Linked DNA regions of Homo sapiens: region 2 is linked to region 1. Evidence: promoter capture Hi-C in 16 types of primary human blood cells and fetal thymus (Javierre and others, 2016). All regions are on one chromosome and are shown on one strand. The core of a region is centred on a gene start or on the middle of the fragment in contact, and the rest is flanking DNA. Distances in the headings are between cores, read along the strand shown.

What was found. The method cuts DNA at HindIII sites, captures the fragments that hold promoters and counts their contacts. A CHiCAGO score of 5 or more calls a contact.
Region 2: a fragment that was not itself captured here is called in contact with the fragment with the promoter of MGAT4A in region 1 in 1 of 17 cell types (fetal thymus); the score reaches 5.3 in fetal thymus.

What each region holds. Positions count from the first base shown.
Region 1 is chr2:98,729,120-98,735,538 of GRCh38, forward strand. MGAT4A (alpha-1,3-mannosyl-glycoprotein 4-beta-N-acetylglucosaminyltransferase A) reads right to left here and starts at 2,013. Exons shown (of 16, transcript NM_012214.3): 1 at 1,929-2,013. LOC107985922 (a long non-coding RNA gene) reads left to right here and starts at 2,162. Exons shown (of 2, transcript XR_007087150.1): 1 at 2,162-2,576. RefSeq lists silencers at 2,021-2,350, 2,371-2,560, 2,667-2,961. The HindIII fragment of the contact is 4,047 bases long and covers 1-4,003 here.
Region 2 is chr2:99,480,232-99,487,493 of GRCh38, forward strand. All of the region lies in intron 1 of REV1 (REV1 DNA directed polymerase), which reads right to left. Among named protein-coding and RNA genes, the nearest start is that of REV1, 6.2 kb to the right of the region's middle. The HindIII fragment of the contact is 989 bases long and covers 1,052-2,040 here.

The DNA of each region.
Region 1 (6,419 bases), core at 763-3,262:
GAACTCTAAAACCAAAGTAAACTATTGATATACTACCCCTAATATATGAAAAAAAAAAAATACTGGATCCAGTAAGTTATGAAACTCTGAAGATACTTACAATAAATTCTACTAGCAAATAAGCCCTGAAATTTTGCAAGAAAAATATGCGTGTTTTACTCAGTAAGAATGTAGTCATACATTTTTAATTAGGGTTTCCCAGCTAATAAGTTTAACTGCACGGCACAAGTGAAGAAACTCTTCGGACAAGAGTAAAACCAAGGATCTACTCACTCTTCAATTATGAGACATAATTCACAGGCTGGCTTGTAAGACACAGGTGACCCACATTTTTATTAGTGTCCACATTTGCAAAAATTTTAATCTAGCCCCTTAATATTCTCGGAGACTATAATCTAACACGTTTGAATCTTTAACAACAACAAAAAAAGGTAGTGGCTAAAATTGCTAGTCATTTCTCCACCCTCCCAAAGGTGAATGGAACTTTCAACTCTAGACATCAGACTGTTTTGTTAGCAATCCTTTAAGGGCTTCAGTCTTCATTTTATTATTGGATACAAAACCTTTACTTATTTTAAAGTGTTCTCTGAAATACTCAATATAGTCCACGGCTGAGAACACTTTGCCGAACGTTTGGCATCTTCCTTAATCAGCATCCCACAGACAGGGTAGAGGTGACTTAAGAATGAAAGGCACAATAATCCCTGATATCTGGAATCAATAAAATCCATGACGTAAGCCTATATAACTTTACACACCACAATTGTGGCAAAATTCATTTATTTGCCATTTATAAACGGGTCAGTAGTTTTCTTTAATACAGCTTACGTAATGTCATCGCCCAGTGCGTTTTCGGGTTTACACGTGTGGGTTAAAGAAATCTATGTCAAGATAACCTGTTCATCAAACTGTTTTTTAAACATTCAGAAAAAGAAACATAAACCACAAAACGCATATTTTTATTCTAAATTTACAGTCTACGTTCCAACGAACGACTGTCATTATCTTTTATCAAATAATCTGTCCAACAGCAAAAGCACAACAGCAAAATACGTGGAAAGCATTCAAAGCATACATTGTGCCTGCTTCTATTTTCCAATGCGGAATGTAGGCAATGAAACCGCTCCAGAGAAACACACTGTTGCGAGGAATAAAGGCGGGTGTGCAAGTGGCTCGACTGCCAGCTCAGAAAAGCTCGCCTCCGAGATGTCACCTGGCACACTTGGTGGAGTCACCGAGACCCAGCCTCAGGGTCCTACTGCAGCTTCCTCATTACGGAGAGAGCTGAGGCCTGGGGAAACGGGGGCTGCTCTTTCACGCGGGCCCCGCAGCCCTTCACTTTGTGTGAAAATTCCCTGCGAAGGCTGCACGGCCGGTCCCCTCGGGAGCAGCCCCTGCCCCTGCGCCTCGGACCGTCCGGCCCCGCCCACCTGCCCCGCGGCCCCCGCGAAAGCGCCGACTCCCGCGCAGCCCCCGGGTCCCACAGGCAGCTGTCCCTCCCCCTCCGCACCCCCCGGATCAGCACTTTGCTCCACTTTCCCCCAAAGTCGCCGAGCCCCGCCACGCCGGGGAGCGCCAGGAACGCACCAGGCGCCGAGCCGGCCGCAGAGAGGGCGCGCGACCCCGAGGGGTGCGCGGTGCGGGGCAGGGACGCTGGGAGGACGGCCCGGCCCGCGCCCCGCCGCCCGCCCCCGAGGCCCAGCCGCTCCCGGAGCCGGCCCCGCGCCCAGAGGCGCCAACAGCTCCCCCGCACAGAGCTCCGGCCGGGCCGCGGCGCAGTAGGCTCCTTTACCAGCAGGTGGATCTCCCGCAGCCCGGGGCCGCCAGCCCGGCCGCCGGCGCCGCCCCCAACTCCCGCGCCCTCCGCGCAGCCGCCCCGCGCCCCCTCCCGCCCCCGCGCGCCGCCGCTGCCGCCGCGAGCCCCTCACCCGCCGCTGGCGTCGCCGTGCTCCCGCGGCTGCCGGCGGAGCTGCTGTAGCCGCCGCCGCCGCTGCCGCCGCCGCTGCGGGCCGCCCCGCCCGCCCCGCCGGCTCCGCCCCCGCCGCTGGAGCGCCCGCCCCGCCCCGCCCCGCCGGGCCGCCCCGACCCCGCCAGCCATTGGCCGGCCCCGCGGGCCCCGCGCCCCGCGCCCCGCGCCCCACCAGTGGCCCGCGCGACTGTCACTTAGGGGCGCCGCCACGCAGCCTGCGGAGCGTTCGGGAGGCTGGCCCGGCTCATCGGTGTCACGGCGAGGTCCGGAGCGGAGCCGCGGTCTCGGGTCCCAGCTCTGGGCGCCGGCCTGCTCCCCGCCGCCCCGCTGCCACATCTGGCTGAGATCCTCCCGGCGCGTGCAGGGACCGCTCCGGCGGCCAACAAAGGCCCGGGCGAGCCCTCGGCCTGCGCCTCGGCGCGCGACCCGACCACCCGGGGCTGCCCCAGCTCCCAGGCGCCTGCCTGCCTCGACCCGGCCCCTTCCCAGCGGCGCGCCCCGCTCCGGGCCGCCCAAACTGGGCGGCCTCCCCGGGGACAGGTCCCGGGCCCAGCCCCACAGGAGCTCCCGAGGCCCCGCGGACGGTCGCGACAGCCCCAACTTCCCGGTGAGAACCCCGCGAATCGGCCAGAAGGGCTGATTTCAGCAACTGGGAAGGAGAAAAACAACTAGGGTTTCAACGCACATCGTTGGGTGCTAATGCCCCTGATTTTCCACTATGCCCCGTTTTCTTGAACCCCATGTCCTTATCTGTCGCCGTTTCACAAGGTTAGAGGTTAACTTCAAAGGCAAAAAACTGACTCGTTTGTAGAAAGCCTGGGTGGTCTGTCCCTGTTTTTCATAGTATCCATAGGACTTGTGCTAACAGTAACTACCCCTGGGTACGTCCTCTTTTGAATACTTAACTGTATAGCAGGCAACCGTATAGCAGGCATGGGTGTTAGATCGTTTATTGCATATCTCATGTTTTAAATTTATTCCCCATTTTTCATAAGAGGAAACTAGCTGAGAGGTGAAAGGGCTTGCCCAAGGTCACACAGCTGGTAATGGTTCAAAAACAAGGGATGTGTTAACTTTATTGCCGCAATAATCCTTACAGCAATCCTACCGAGTAACCTGTAAGGGAATTGAGGGGCCAAAGATCAAGGAGGCAGCCTTGTTCCTGCCAAACTCCCAAAGTAATAAGTAGATTCTTTTCAGAAAACAGTAATTTCAATAATCGAAAACTCTTAAGAGGCATCAATCAGAACAGGGTCCCCTCCCCACCTCCGATAAATTCCATTATTTTTATCTCAAGATAAGAATAATTAATAATCAGCTAGAACATGCATGGAGTTATCAGCCTTCCCATGTTGAGGTTTCTCCATGACGGCTAATTTAAAACTTCAGGAAGAGACACGTAACATCCCTGCTCCCATAGTCTCTTACTAGTTTAGGGGAACCATACCAAAAGATCTGTCCACTGCCCAGCACTGTGGACACAACTTGGGGGATCACAGCCATGATATCCAATGACAGCTCTTCCCTCTACTTTGAGTGTGTTTTCTCTCTACTTCCGGTTTGGCTGTGTCCCCACCCAAATATCATCTTGAATTGTAAATCCCACAATTCCTGTGTGGTGGGAGGAACCTGGTGGGAGGTAATTGAATCATGGGGGAGGGTCTTTCCCATGCTGTTCTCGTGATAGTGAATAAGTCTCACGAAATCTGATGGTTTTAAAAAAGGGAGTTTTGCTGCACAAACTCTCTTTGCCTGCCACCATCCATGTAAGAAGTGACTTGCTCCTCCTTGCCTTCCACCATGATTGTGAGGCCTCCCCTGCCATGTGGAACTGTAACTCCATTGAACCTCTTTTGTCCGTTGCCCAGTCTTGGGTATGTCTTTATCAGCAGCATGAAAACGGACGAATACATTGGGGACCTGAAAGCCAGGTTTCCTGTATTCTATGACAAAGCCATTGCCAAGTAGCAAGCTGGCAATTTGATTCATGACCAGATGTAAACAGAGGTAAAGACTGAGACCATTCCAAGGTAAAGCTTTTAATACATTGTTGGATATATCCTGCCTAAAATATCTCCTAGGAATAGATGATTCTAGGCTTTGCTATTACAGTGCTCTTAATGACAGACAAGCAAACTACTTCTTGCAGAGGAAGAAAGTCCTGCCATTTGATAACATCATGGAGAATGCCCCCAAGCCATTTTCATGAATTACCCAAAAGACCAAATGGAACAGGAGCTATTATCCCTATTTTATTCACGAAGAAACTGAGGCCCTGAGAAATTAAGACATTTGACAGATACAAACAGTAATTTAGGCAATTAGTAAATGTTTGAATCAGAGTTCAAATCCAGGTCTGTTTGATTCCAGAGCCCCTACATCACCCCTCCAGACTATCTCTCTGCTCACATCTTCAGCAAGTTACAAAATTTTGTTGAGTGGATGAATATTTTTACATATATTTCCCAGCTGGGCACAGTGGCTCATGCCCATAATCCCAGCACTTTGGGAGGCAGAGGTAGGAGGATTGCTTGAGCCCAGGAGTTCGAGACCGGCCGGGGAAACAGAGAGAGACCCATGTCTTTAAAAAAATAAAAATTAAAAATTAGCCTGGTGTGCATGCATCAGTAGTCCCAGCTACTGGGAAGGCTGAGGCATGAGGATCATTTGAGCCCAGGAGTTCCAGGCTGCAATGAAATATGATCATGCCACTGCACTACAGCCTGGGTGACAGAGTGAGACCCTGTCTCTCTCTCTCTCTCTCTCTCTCTCTCTCTCTCTCTCTCTCTCTCAAAAGAAAGAAAAAAAAAAGCCAGGTGTGGTGGCTCACTCCTGTAATCCCAGCACTTTGGGAGGCTGAGGCGGGCAGATCACCTGAGGTTCAGGAGTTCAAGACCAGTCTGACCAACAGTGTGAAACCCTGTCTCTATTAAAAATACAAAAATTAGCTGGGCATGGTTGTGCGTGCCTATAATCCCAGCTACTTGGGAGGCTGAGGCAGGAGAATCGCTTGAACTCAGGAGGCAGAGGTCACAGTGAGCCAAGATCGCGCCATTGCACTCCAGCCTGGGCAACAAGAGTGAAACTCCATCAAAAAAAAAAAAAAGATGTTTCTCTTCACCTTCTCCAGTTTTTTCTCTTAGTGAAGGAAGGAAATGAAAGCATTTACAGACATTCTATAAGCAGAGGCATATGTCAGAGGAGAAAGGAATAGGGGGAAGGACAAACTTCAGTTATAGACTCCACCGGCTTATTCAGATAAAAAGCGGAATTTCCCCTGCACTCTGGGTAGTGGAGGAAGCACAGCAGAAGACAAAAAGTGTACAGGAAAAACACAACTGCTTTCACTTGGAGGCTTTTTTGATACTTCGTTGCTGCTTCAACTGGCAGCAGAAGGGCAGGTTTTGGAAAATAGGGTTACACTTATCTCAAACCATATACATTGTAGCTCAGGAAAGTCTGGATTTCAGTGAGTTGTCCCAAGAAACTGGAATGCCATAGAATATATTATTCCAAGGTATAGGGTATAATTGGTTGATGATTCATGTTAACTTAGCAGAGTTTATGATCCTGGATTTTCCAACTAAGTCCATAGTATCTGTTAATAATCAAAGACAATCCATCCAAACCCCACTGAATCCCATTCCATATCTTTTTCTCTTTTTAATATTGTTGATGATGATTCTCCTCCTCTATCACTTCCTTTTTATTTATTCTCTACTTCTACAGTTTCTGTTTCTGCCTTTATTTCTCAGTGGAATTGTACCCAAGAGGTTCTGCCAGAACTTTACCATTTATTTTGTAGTCTGTCCCCAACAAAGCTTCTATGTTGAGGCTGTTTTCCTTTCCACACACATTTTTGCTGTTCCACAAACTTTTTCTGAGTGCCTATGATTACAGAGGCAGCTGTTATCTAACCACAAAGTGCTCACAGTAGAAGAAATGGGTAAGTAATTAAACCATAGTACAATGCTACAAACGCACAGTTCTGGGACAGCCGATAGGATTAAGCCATCTGGGGGCAAGGAAGCCTTCCTGGAAGTGATATCTGAGCTAAAAGCAGAGTACACACAGGGAGTGAATCTTTTCCTTTTATCTCTTTGATGGTAAATGGCTGTTGGTGGGGCCATGCCTATAGCAGTCAGCTTCTAAGAATTCAAGCACATAATCTCTAGTTTTCTTTTCTACCCCAGCCCCCTCCATGCATTAACAATCAAGCTTGCATTATTTATGAATATTTATAAAGATTGTGTTTTCTGGCTTCTTGGCTACTAGCTCTAGTGAGATTCTTTCCCCGACCCAGTGTAAAGCCTGCTAGAGGAATCACATCAGGAGGTTCTCCCTGGCTTTTTATTTTATTTTTATTTTATTTTATTTTATTTTATTTTATTTTATTTTATTTTATCTTATTTTATTTTATTTTGAGATGGAGTTTTGCTCCTGTTGCCCA
Region 2 (7,262 bases), core at 296-2,795, 750 kb after region 1:
AGAACTGCTTGAGCCTGGGAGGTTAAGACTGTAGTGAGCCATCATCACGTCACTGCACTCAGGCCTAGACTATAGAGCAAGACTCTGCCTCATAAAAAATACAAAAAGATGTTTAGGACAACATTCTAGAACTTACCAGTATGTAGGAACATGGCCAGATGTAGAGGTAGACAAACTAAGGTAGGTGGAGAAATATAACAGAAGGCCTTGAATATATCATACTAAGAAGTTTAAACCTTACTTTGTAAGTTTTAAGCAAGTGTAAATTGGGTGGGAGAGTTTCTGGCTCCTGAGCCTAGCCTACACCATAACGTATAAATCTTAGCAGAAGTCCTCACCTTGTGCATTCCACCCACACAAGTCATTAGATCTCTGAACTCACAAGGTAACTGGCATAAACAATGACACATAACTAAAAACAAATCCCTCAGAGCAACTGCAATTCAAAAATATAGTCAAACTCTTTTTTTCTGGACCTGCTATCAGTTCCAGCATTCACAAATCCCTTTTCTCACAAATGCTTCTATTAAATGTAATTCCAAATAAACATAAAGGAAGCAGAAGTTGTCACTGCTTCTGGAATTTTCCCTTGCTTACACCAAGAATATATTTAAAATTATATACTTTTAAAAAAACAAAAACATTACAACATGCTACATTCTTCAAGACACCAGAAGTCTTATTCAATGTAACAATTTAGCACACTATAATCTCTGAGGAACAGTGAGTTCCAAGATAATTCAATATAATCTTCAAGTGACAATCTGAAATAAGATTAGGCATAAATAATATGCAAAAGAATATTAACCTCCAACACAGTAAACTTGAAGTGTTAGTAACTTTGACTCAAGTGCTAAAATTCAAAACAGCAATTAAGTTACTGAAACATTTTACAACCCTAACACAAATAGATTATCAATGCCTCCACCCTACCCATAAATATCTCACTTCATAATTTCTTCTTCCAAATAACTAATGAATAATTACGTACATCTAAAAGTACAAATTCAAGACCAATACCAAAATTCAGATTTTTTACAGCCAATTATTAAGCTTTAAAGTATCAAGTATACAGTTTATAACCCAAGCTACAAAATTTATGTAATTAAAACATTTAACTCAAGTGAATAACCCAAGTTTTAAATTATATTGTATCAATAAAAAAAATGTTATGTAGTAATTCTCAACAGAAGGCAATCCTTCTATCCATATTCAAATGCAACCTGTTCCAATTTTTAATACAACAGAGGTAACTGGGTTACTATCACTACTACTAGTTTTAGCTGTCATAAATTGAGCAAGTGTCTGTTCTCACTTCTTTAGCCAGCATTGTGTAATAAAGAATTTGGGGCCCAGGCACAGTGGCACATGCCTGTATACCAGCACTCTGGGAGGCCAAGGCAGGAGGATCACTTGAGGCCAGGAGTCTGAAACCAGCCTGGGCAACATGGGGAGATCCCTACACACACACACACACAAAAATTTAAATTAGCCAGGTGCGGTGGTGTGTGCCTGTAGTCCTAGCTACTGGGGAGGCTGAGGCAGGAGGATCACTTTGGCCTGAAAGCTGGAGGCTACAGTGAGCTATGATAGCACCACTGTGACACAGTGAGACCCCGTCCCTAAAAAAACAAAAACAAAAAAATTTGACTGGCCATTGTCTGATTCCTGGAAAACTCTACTCTTGGAGTCTCCCAACTGATAGGAGTGTCTTTGTTATCCATGAATCCATAATGGGTCCTCCTTGGCCCACAGCTGAGTTTCTATTAACAGGGTGACTCCCAGTAGGCCCCTAGTTTCAGGATGGGGCCTGGCCATGCTGGAAATGCCAACCATGTGAATAGTGGGTTGGGCTTTGAGCAACCTGACATCAGCCTAACAACTTGACCTCCAGGGAGAAGGGGACTGGGGACTGAGTTCAATCATACCTATGTAATAAAAGTCCCATAAAAACTCCAGATGCTGTAGAGTAAGTGAGGTTTCCTGGCTGGCAATCATTCACTGCTGTACTGGAAGGATGACACGTCCTGAGGACATGGAAGCTTCATGTTTGGGACCCTCCCAGATCTTGTTCTATGTGTCTCTTTAATTGGCTGGTCCTGATTTGTATCATAACTGTAATTCCAAGAACAGCACTTTCCTGAGGTCTGCGAGTCATTCTACCAAATTATCAAACGTGAGGTGTAGTGGGAACTCCGAAAGTTGTAGCCAGTTGGTCAGAGTGTGGATAACCTGCAAGTCCTGGAGTTTGTAGCTAATATAAGAAGTGAGGAGAGTCTTGCAGACTGTACCCTTAACTTACGATGCCTTACCTAACTCTGGGTAGCAGGTGCCCAAATTACACTACAGCTATAAAATAGGATATGCTGCCTTACTTCTCTTCCCAGGACTCTTAAGAGAATTAAATGAGAAAAAAGTTAGGTAAAAGCACTCTTTAAGATATAAAACGTTGTGTTTGCTTCGGCTGCACATACACTAAAATTGGAATGACACAGAGAAGATTATCATGAGAAAAAATTCTGTATTAAAAAATTTACACTTTGGGAGGCCGAGGCAGGCGGGATCACCTGAGGTCAGGAGTTCGAGACCAGCCTGGCCAACATGGTGAAACCCCGTCTCTACTAAAAATACAAAACCCAGCTGGGCGTGGTGGCAGGTGCCTGTAATCTCAACCACTTGGGAGGCTGAGGCAGGACAATCGCTTGAACCTGGGAGGAGGAGGTTGCAGTGAACCAAGATCATGCCATAGCACTCCAGCCTGGGCGACAAGGGCAAAACTCCGTTTCAAAAAAAAAAAAAAAAATTTTTTTTTTGTTACGGTCTTTAAGATATTGAAGAAGAAATTGTTAAAACATTTGTAAAGTTCAGAACTGTCCAGGTTAAATGCTTTAAAAAAAAAGGCTTAAAATAAAAAGCTAAGGAGTCATCAAGAAATTGAATTTATTATGAGTAAAATACAGAACTTAATGAAAACCATTTAAAAGAGCAAAAAATCTAAGTAGTTTCAACTACATAACTCAGACCAGTGCCTAAAAGATAAAAATGCATTAAGTCCATTCCTAGAAATAGCAAATGTAGAAATGATGGAGCTTAGAGAATGTAAGATGCAGCCATTATTTTGTGACTAAACCTCCAAAAAGTTCATTTTAGCCTTGGGTATGATCAGGAATGACTGAGGTCAGTAAGCAACACTTTGCTTAATAGGCTATGAGTTTGAATACGAACTACTCACATCACAACCAACTTTTTTTGCCCATCACTACCTAATATTTTAATTCAAGCACAAAGCCATGGGACCCGACTAGTCTTTAAAAGGTTTCTCAAAGCATCCTATGTGGATAAGGCAGTCTCCTGCCTATATGAGAAAGTATCATTTTCAACTGCATTATAATAGAGGACAAAATTTTTTTCTATTATGTTCCAATGATAAAATCAAGACTTTAAATCGTAATTTTACAAGAACATATCGTTTTATTTTCCACCCTCTTGAATATGAGATACTAAGTGTTGCTGGTCTTTCCCTCAGTAATGCAGGGAACAGTTTGGTGTAGCAGGGGGAAAAAATGGCCTTGGGGGGAAAACCTAGGGTCTCATCTTATTTCTCCTCTTTAGCAGGCAAATGACTCTTGGGGTCTCACTTTCCTCCAGTAAGATATAATGGCATTGCCTCTGGAGTCTGTAAGATTCTTCCTACCCCTGACATTCTGAGGTGTTGAGAAGCCAATAACTCATAATTTAGATATTCTTACAAATTAAAAAAGCCTTGCAAGGAAATGTCAGAAACCATTAAAATTTATGTAAAAACATCCCACCTATGTGTTCCTCCTTATTGAAGGAGATCCAGGTAAAGATCTCCTATGTAGGCTATTATCCTTAGCAAACTAACACACGAACAGAACACCAAACACCACATGTTCTCACTTGCAAGTGGCAGCCAAATGATGAGAACTCATGAACGCAAAGAAGGGAGCAATAGACACTGAGTCTACTTAAGCGTGGAGGGTGGGAGGAGGGAAACGAGCAGAAAAAGTAACTATTGTGTATCAGGCTTAATACCTGAGTGATGAAACAATCTGTACAACAAACCCCCATGACACTAGTTTATCTATATAACAAACATTCATATGTACCCCAGAACCTAAGATAGAAGTTTAAAAAAAAAATTGCCCCATAGTCAGCAGGAAACACATCACTAGTAACTTTTACTAAATATTTACTTGCTACCTCCAATTTAGCCCTGAGCAAACTTAAGACATTTATGTTTTCTTAAATCTAATGTATTATATGCAAAACCTTTTCAAACTATTTACAAAGCTGAAGCACCAAGACACATGATTCTTTGACTTATTTTTAATGACTTTTAAATATGAGAAAAACATTAATTACGATGCAAGTCATCATCCTATTAAAACATTTCACTTATAATACAAGCATTTAAGTATAGTAGTAGTAGTTAAATCTAAAAAAAAAACAAAAAATTAGCCATAAATAATGATGAAGCTGCCAGTAGTTAACAACACACACTCACAAATAATGAGATAAATTTAACGGCAAGCTTCCAAACAAAAACCTTGTCATTTTAAGGTGTCCCACAGCAGACCGGTTATGACCTCGGGAACTGGCCTGAAATCTTGCCTCCTTTCTTGTGTAACCAGCCAAATAACAACACCTCTCTAAATCTGTTTCTTTATAATGGTGCCAACCTTATACGGTAGCTGTAGATATTAATTAAGACACTGCACCTAGGAAAGAGCCTAGCACACAGTAAATAATAACTCACAATTATTAAATTTTGGAAGAAATGTTACACAAAGCAGCAGCCCTTTGACTTTTAAAAAAAAATTTACACCTAGGGTTTAGGATCCTATTACTTGTTAAAGTTCAGACTGAGAAATGAAATAACAATCCTACAAAGAAGCATTTTACTAAGGACAAGTGAATTTAAAATAACTGGTATTATGCAAGTTCAATTACCACAGGCAGAATCTTAGTTTATGAGAATAATTCAAGTTGTATTAGCTGAAAATATCTATTATTACAAAGTCACTGTCTCCATCAATTCTTTCTTCTCTTATTTCTGTATCTGCTAAAGAAAAATAAATCATTATGAAAAGAACAGAAAGATACAGAGCACAGCTGGGTTACTTTAAGTTCCAATTAATAACCAAATATAATCTGAGGGGAAAAACCCAGTGAAAGAAGGGAGAAACTGAACACAACTAAAGATGATAAAAATTTCCTTCCCAAATACTACAAGACTCATATTTCAACTGGATCTTCAAGGACTTTCCTGTCTGAAGACACGAAGCCTCCAGCAAGTCCTTTCATCACCACAATCAGATCTCCAGCTGAACTTCAAAGGGAACTCTATAAAAGCCACTCTGGTGGGCGGTTGTTGAGATAATCACTCTTAGCATCTTCTACAGATTGAAAAATAAAAAACCTGACTTACACATTAAGACCAAACACCAGTCACCATTCTCAACAGTTTATTTTTTAATTTGCTCTAGACATCCACAAAATGTATTTTTTAAAGGCGTTCCATAAATACAATTTTGGTGGCTAACAAAAATTCAGCACCAAAGTAATAAATATAAAATTTAGCCAGACACAGTGGCTCACACTTGTAATCCCACCATTTTGGGAGGATGAGGCAGGAGGATGAGGCAGGAGACTGTAGCCCAAGAGTTTGAGACCAGCCTGGGCAAAACAGTAGGACCCCATCTTTACAAAACATTAAAAGACTAGCCAGGCATGGTGGCACATGCCTGTAGTGCAGGCTACTCGAGCGCCTGAGGCGGGAGGCTGGCTTGAGCCCAGGAGGTTGAGGCTGCAGTGAGCCGTGATCACACCACTGCATTCCAGCTTGGGCAACAGAGCAAGACCCTGTCTCAAAAAATGTTAAAAAAGAAAAAAATTCAATTAACCCACCTTTATCTCATGCCAAAATACAAAATCCTAAGTGAACAAGCTAATTTCAAATAGTTCCTAGAAGGTTTAAAATTTCCCTGTTCTGGGCTGGGACCAGTGGCTCACGCCTGTAATCCCAGCACTTTGGGAGGCTGAGGCGGGCGGATCACGAGGTCAGGAGACCGACACCATCCTGGATAACACGGTGAAACCCCGTCTCTACTAAAAATACAAAAAATTAGCCGGGCGTGGTGGCAGGTGCCTGCAGTCCCAGCTACTCGGGAGGCTGAGGCAGGAGAATGGCGTGAACCCAGGAGGTGGAGCTTGCAGTGAGCCAAGATGGTGCCACTGCACTCCAGTGTGGGCGACAGAGCGAGACTCCATCTCAAAAAAAAAAAAAATTACCCTGTTCTAAGCACTTTACATACATTAACTCAATTATTACTCACCATAATCCTGTGAGGTAGGTATTATTACAGTCATCCTACAGATGAGCAGAACTGAGGCACCACCAAGTTATTAACTTGCCCACAGTCTCAATCAGTAAATGGTGGGAGCCAGAGAATTCTGACCCTAGCTGTCTGATTCCAGAGCCAATATTTAAATCAACTATACTATTCATTTACTCAACAAGTTTTACTGACAGCCTACTATGTACCAGGCACAGTTCTAAGCACTGGGGATAAAGCTGTGTACAAGTCAGACAAGACCTCTGCTCGCTTGTTGAGAACAGGGCTGGCAGCAAACAAGTCTAAGGGGGGAAATAAATAAGTGGGAAAAAAAAAACAGTGTATCTTCACCTAGTAATAAATGCTATGGAGAAAAAGAGAATAAAGAATAAAAGATTATAAAGGAAGGGGCTGGTTCCTATTTTAGAATTAGAAAAGGCCTGAGGCGATGACATTTGAGCAGAAACACAAGACAAGACATGAAGAGCCTTGACCACTTAGAGGAAGGGGTGGTCCAGCTAAAAGAATAGTAAGTATAACATCCTAAGGAAGAAACACTTTGTTCAAGAACCGGCAAAATGACTATGGGACTGGGGTAGGTTGCTGAAAGTCAGTCACCTAGTAAGAGGTAACGTTAGAAGCTGGCAGCTGCCAAATCATGCTATGCCCTGATGGCGACTAAGATTCAAATGTAAGTGGTTCACAGGATGCTTTTAGAGGACACTAAGCAAGAAAGTGACAATCTGATTTACATTTTTAAAAAGATCCCTCTGGTTGTCAAGGTGAATCCCTAGGGAACAGTCAGGGAGCAAGAGAAATAAACCAGTAAAGGCACTATGGAAACACTCCAACCAAGAGATAATGGAACTTAGACTAGGATTCATGTACTGTTTATAAGTAGAT